Linked DNA regions of Homo sapiens: region 1 is linked to region 2. Evidence: promoter capture Hi-C in 16 types of primary human blood cells and fetal thymus (Javierre and others, 2016). All regions are on one chromosome and are shown on one strand. Each heading gives the region's core, a stretch centred on a gene start or on the middle of the fragment in contact. The rest is flanking DNA. Distances are from core to core; before and after follow the strand shown.

Region 1 (3,291 bases), core at 43-2,542, 540 kb after region 2:
CTGGTGACTGCGGCCACTGGGCTGGCTTGGGAGCTACCAGAGATACTGCAGAACTCAGGGAAGGAGCATTGAGCTTCAGCCCTGCTGTTAGGCAGGGGAAGGTTGTGGGGATGGTAGACATTTGGGCTGCAATTGTGGATGTGGAGATATGACACACAAAAGTACACTGATGTCAGAGTCCCTGACACAACATAGATGCCCTGAAAAAAACAGGAAGGCCAGGAAAATTTTACACAAGGAGGTGAGAAAGTATTTCTGATTAGTCCTGAATCATAAAAGACAAAATTGATCACGATCACGTACTCTGGGTCACTGAGGTTGTGCTGTCTATATAGGAGAGAGAGATTCATTCATTTGGGGTTGGGGGAAACCAAGGAAGATATACTATTTTGTTTCTGTAATCCAAGTTGACACACTGAACATTTTCAAGCTTTTCAAGAAAAGTTGGAATTCAGCAAGGGCATTTTGACAGCACTGAAATTTATGTCTGGCTGGAATGAGATAGTACTCCACATTTTTAAACAGTTTTGGTCAGAGGAGAAAAATGTAAAATTGGTCCCTAGCTAATGAGGCCCTGATCTTCCTTTTATGGCTCTCTAGTATGCAATTAAGGTTAGCTTCATGTAAACTGCCAGTGCGCTCAGACTTTTAACAGCCTTATGTATGTCAGGAAGGAAAATAAATAGTCCCCTGTTTGTGCTTTATGTGGGGAAATTATTGAGATAAACAGCTTGGGCCTGGCAGGTGTGACTTCTTTCAGCTTAACGTGATGGATTTGCCAGTGGAAGCTAGGCTGATAGCACCAAACTGTTGATAGAGGAAAAACATGGTAAAGATTCTGACAGTTATATAAGCACCAGAGCTAGGCATGGTCTGACTTGTAGCTGTGAGATTCTCAGATTTTCAGTGTCTGAGTATGGAAGAAACTAGAATGCTGAGATAGAGGAGACTCATTCTGCAGGAATAGGTCAAATCCTAGAGCTCTGGAGGAATTTAGAGATAAGGAAGTGAGTCCTAGAAAGGGCTAAAGGCTACCCAGCTATTCAGAATTGGACCCAAGGTCTCCAGAACCCATGCTGTTCCCACTATTCTAAACAGCTTCCAAGCACCTTGACAAATCATGCATTGATGAATTCAGTCTTGGAGACCTGGGTTTGGCCCCTGGTTTGGCCACCATCCCCTTGCTCTGGTCACCCCTTCTATTACCTCCACTATAATCCATATTCTTCACCACCTCTAGCATTTCCTAAAATGCAGTTCTGAGCATGCCTCACACCCTGTCCCCTATTTAAAACCCTTTGATGACCCTCTCTGCTATCAGAATAAAATTTTTAGTATTGCTTAAAAGGACCTTCCAAAGCCTGGTCTGTGCTTACTTATCCATCTCCATTCATAATCTCCAATTCCCTCTCACCTAAACTCTATGCTCTGGTCATTCTGAACTATTTGCTCTTTCCCTAAATGTAGAATAGCCACATAAAACACAGGATCCAGCTTAACTGTATGGACTGTTTGGGTCATATTCATCCTAAAGCATTATTTGGGATTAAAATTAAATAAATTTAAATTAGTCAAATTTAAATTTATTTAATTTTAATCCCAAATAATATTTTAGAATGAATAAATTAATCCTAAAATATTAATAAATAAACAAAATTTAAATGTGACTATATATATATAGAGAGAGAGAGAGAGAGAGAGAGATGGGTCTTGCCCTGTCACCCAGGCTGGAGTGCAGCGGGACGATCCTGACTCACTGCAACCTCTGCCTCCCAGGCTCAAGTAATTCTCATGCCTCAGCCTCCCGAGTAGCTGGGATTACAGGTACGTGCCACCATGCCAGGCTAATATTTTTTTTTTTTTTTGTATTTTCCGTAGAGATAGGGTTTCGCCATGTTGGCCAAGCTGGTCTCAAACTTGACCTCGAGCAATCTGCCTGCCTCAGCCTCCCAAAGTGCTGCGATTACAGGCATGAGCCACTGCACCCAACTATTTTTATTGGTTAAATGTGGCGTAAATCTGGCAACGTTCAAATTGGGCCTGGCTTTTCCTCACCTCTGGGACTTTTTTAAAATGTGCCATCCTTTAGCTGGAACACCAAGCCTCTCTCTCATTGCTTAGCTAACTCATTGAGTCAGAGACTCTAAAGCTTCATTTTCACCTTCCACAGAATGCAGTTATTGCTGGCATGTGACTACCAAGTCAGCAACTATATTTCCAAGCCTTTTGCATCCAGGTGGGCCATGTGACTAGATGTCCCCAGTAGAATGTGAGTGTAAATATGCAGCCACTCATGGGCATAGTGGTTAAGAGGCAGGTGTGCCTACTCTGCCCTATTTTTCCATCCACCAACTGGAAGTAAAGGACTTCCAGGTCCTAGGAGATGATGGAGCTACAAGATGGATGGAGCCTGGGTCCCCAAATCATTGTGAGGAAGGCCACCCACCAAACACATTGGCAGTCCCATGAATGAGAAGTAAACTTCAGTCATGTCAGTGAAATGCGGGGATGTGGGGATTTGTTTGTTACAGCAGCTAGCATTACCTTAGCTAATATACCCATTCTTTGGGTCTGAGTTTTGATATCCCTTCCTCATAGAGGGCACCCCAAACTGGGTTAGTAGCTCCTCTTATGTGCTCTCAACCCTCCCATTCTTATTCCTCCAGTAACACCCACCATGCTGTATTGTGATCAGCTCTTTGCTTGTCTATTTACTTTTTCTGCAGGACAAAAATGTTCCTTGGAGTTTGGTATTATGATTGTGTTGGCTATGGCTATATCTGCAAAGCATAGTACTAATGAACGAATGAATGAATGAATGAGTGGAGCCTTTCCAATTCTTTGAGTCTGTATCCTTATCTTTAAAATTGAGAGGACAGACAAAATGATCTCTAAGATCTCTCCCAAATCTATGATTCAGGAGTCTATAAATATAACTGAAATGGATACCTATTGTTCTGTGTTCCCAGAAACCCCTTTTCCTTGGGAGAAATCTTATTCCATTCCATGTGGTTCTGATGGACTGGGAATCACTGCAATTCATGCACCCCACACTGTCCCATCTTTTATCACCGCAAAGGTGGGCAGGTCACCCAGGCTGGACTATAAAGTTTTACCTTCCTTCAACAGCGATTGGTCAGGGACAGGACCCAATCCAAATTTTTCTCTGAATTTGTATATATATATATGTATTTTCCCTGAAAACACACACACACACACACACACACACACATATATGTAAGTGTGTGTGCATATATATATATATAAAATCTGGGAAAAAAATTTGGATTG
Region 2 (2,971 bases), core at 238-2,737:
CGGGGAGGGTTGGGGAGAGCGGGCTGTTGCTGGAGTCCGGGGTAAGGTGACCAGGGGTAGACAGGAATGAAGGCGGCGGGAATGTAGAGGAAGGGCTGCACCTGAGAGCTGCAGAGGAGGCCCCAGTGAGGTCCACTGGTGGAAAAGAACCGCCATGCGATCTGCAGAACACCAGACCTTCTTCAGCCTTCACTCTTCCCACCCTAGTCTGGTACATTGCACCACTTGTTAAAAAAAAAAATTTCCCTAAGACCTCTTTTTCTCTAGCCTTCTTCCTTATTTTTCATGGTCTCTTCTTAGAACGGCGGCAGCCACGCCGCGGTGGGAGGCCCTTCCTGCCTGACCCTTACCGTGCGGGGTACCGTTCCTGTCACCATCGCCAGGATCTGGCCCTTTCAGTGAAAGGAAATCTCCCAAGGCCTAAGGAGGCAAGAGGCCTGCAAATCGCCTCCTGCTCAGCAAACGGGTTGCTCAGCAGGCCCGGGGTCCTGGTCCACCCCAGGTCCCTGGTTTGCCCACCTCCGATGGCGGCCTTCGCTGGCAGGGTGGGCGCCTCTGGGGAGCCAGCTCCGTCCCGGCGCCTTTAGAGCCCCATCTCTTCCACGTCCCTGGCCTTCCTCCCCTTCCAGGCGGCTGTCCCCGCCGGGGTCCAGATGGTGTCGGAGGGCCGGCGGTTCGACGGCGGGCCCGGGGTTCAGCCTCCCGGCCTCCCTCCGTCCCTGACTCTCCTTTCTTCGGAGAGGGCGCGGGGGCCGGGGCCAAAGCGCCGCTCTTGGGGTTCTCCTGGACTCGGAGTTGCCCCAGGCGGGCGCAGCTCTGCCCCGCGGGGTGCCAGCCTCGGGCGGGCAAGGTCCGTGAGTCACCGCCTGTAACCGAACACCAGGCCTCCCTGCCCCCTCCCCCAGCTCCGGCCGCCAGGCTGCGGCGACACCTACAAGAAAATGAAGGGGCGCCCAGGCCCGCGGCGGCCCCGGCCGTATCGCGAGCAGGTCCCGGCGGCCCCCGGCTCGCGGCGCTCTTTCTTCCCCGGCCCCGGGGCTCGGCCAGCCGCAACCGCCGCCCCGGCGCCAGCAGGAATCCAGGCCGAGCGACCGGCCCCGGAGCCCGAGGCGGCGGAGGGCCCGCGGTAGCTGCGACTGGCGAGCCCGAGAGCGCCCGGGGAGGGGGCGCCCGGCTTGGAATTTCCCGGTCCCTTCCGGCCCAGCGAGGACAAAGCACTCCTGGCCGCCGCCGCCGCCGCCGCCGTGGCCTACGCCGCGCCGCACAAAGGGCGAGTCGCGACACGCTCCCATCCCCCTCCCAGCTCACGGCGGCCCCGGCCCCGGGTGGCTGCAGGGAGGTGGGGGAAGCCCTGGCTGCACCGCCCCTCGCTCCCCCTCCCCTGGGGCCGCGCGAGCGCCGCCCCCGCCCCGTCTGCGCGTCCTCCCGGGGAGGGGTTGGGGGGCGCGGCGCCCCACATAACACTCCCCCTCCTGCGCTGCGAGCCACCCTCTCCCCTCCCTCCTGCAAACACCACCGCCTCCCCTGCCACCGCCGCCACCTCGCCCGACGCTCCACAGCTCGCCGCGGCCGGGGGGCGGTGCGCGGACCGTGCGCGCCGCGGGCGCCAGATGTGCAGTCCCCGCCGCCGCCAGTGACCGAGCCGCAGTCCGAGCGGTATCGGGCCGCCTCCCTGATGCTGCGGGGGCGACCTTGAGCGTACAGCGGCTTCCCTCGGTGGGGACCCCGACATCCCAGCGCTGTGCCCGGTCTTGCCCTCTGTAGCCCGGCTCGCCCCGCGCTTGGACATGGAAGGGGCCGCCGCGCCTGTGGCGGGGGACCGCCCCGACTTGGGGCTGGGGGCGCCGGGCTCTCCCCGAGAGGCGGTGGCGGGGGCGACTGCAGCCCTGGAGCCCAGGAAGCCGCACGGGGTGAAGCGGCATCACCACAAGCACAACTTGAAGCACCGCTACGAGCTGCAGGAGACCCTGGGCAAAGGCACCTACGGCAAAGTCAAGCGGGCCACCGAGAGGTTTTCTGGCCGAGTGGTGAGTGGGGCAATCCTGGAGGGTGCGGGGGGCGCTGGGTGGACGCGGCCGGGGACTGAGGGCGTGCGAGGCGGGGGTCTGTGCGCCCTGGGGCTCTCTTGACAGAGAGGGGGCTCATTGGGAAGCCCCGAGACAGACTCCTCACTCTTTCTCCAGCACCCCGTGACTCAGGCGTGTCTCTGTCCTGAAACACTTGTTACATCCTGTCTGCACATATTTTATTTTATTTTTTGGTTTGTTTTTAAAAATTTAATCCTAGCAGCAAAGGAATGTTTTAGATTTGCAAACACTTTGCAGCGTTGGGACGGCCGGGGTCTCTCTCCCTCGCAGGCACTCATTTAGACCATGCCCCGAAACGTCTTATTTCCACAACTCTCCAAAGAACCACATTCCCAGCTAGGAGCTAGCCCCTCAAGTCCGGTGTTTTGTAGGTGTCCCTACCCCCTTCCACCCATCTGCCCGCAGCTCCTTGCTCTGCATCCTCCCACTCAGACTCTGCATCGCCCTGATACTGCTGTGACTGCAAGGGAGGGCGACTCTTGCCTGTTTTTGAGACAAGGTTAGGGAGCAAAAATAAAGACTACTGCAAGCCTGAGGATTCTAACAGTTTGCATCATGGCTTTGGGAGGACCGAAATGTCCAGGGCATGGGTAGCTACAGAGATAGCTGTGCTTAGTTGCAGCAGGCTCAGTTGTGTTTCAGCTCCTGGTTGCAGGGCTACCAAACCGCTGAAGGGGTCTGGCCCCGCTGCTCTTGTGACAGCTGACACCCTGCCAGGGTCCTGGCACCATTTGCACAGCTCCAAGGAGTGCTTTGAGTGCCTTGGGGTCTGTCTGCCTTGTCCCAGCCTTGGTTTGTTGTTATTTTCACTTCTGCAGAACAGGCCCTTGAAATCCACACTGCTTGTGGCTAGAGAGTTGGGTTCAAAGTGACTGACTGTTGCA

The links. The method cuts DNA at HindIII sites, captures the fragments that hold promoters and counts their contacts. A CHiCAGO score of 5 or more calls a contact.
Region 1: a fragment that was not itself captured here is called in contact with the fragment with the promoter of NUAK1 in region 2 in 1 of 17 cell types (endothelial precursors); the score reaches 5.0 in endothelial precursors.

Annotation. Positions count from the first base shown.
Region 1 is chr12:105,598,657-105,601,947 of GRCh38, reverse strand. No RefSeq gene overlaps it. Among named protein-coding and RNA genes, the nearest start is that of CASC18, 100 kb to the left of the region's middle. The HindIII fragment of the contact is 1,719 bases long and covers 433-2,151 here.
Region 2 is chr12:106,137,470-106,140,440 of GRCh38, reverse strand. It overlaps NUAK1 (NUAK family kinase 1), which reads left to right and starts at 1,487. Exons shown (of 7, transcript NM_014840.3): 1 at 1,487-2,027. The coding sequence starts at 1,788. RefSeq lists enhancers at 1-165, 2,557-2,971. The HindIII fragment of the contact is 5,150 bases long and covers 1-2,971 here.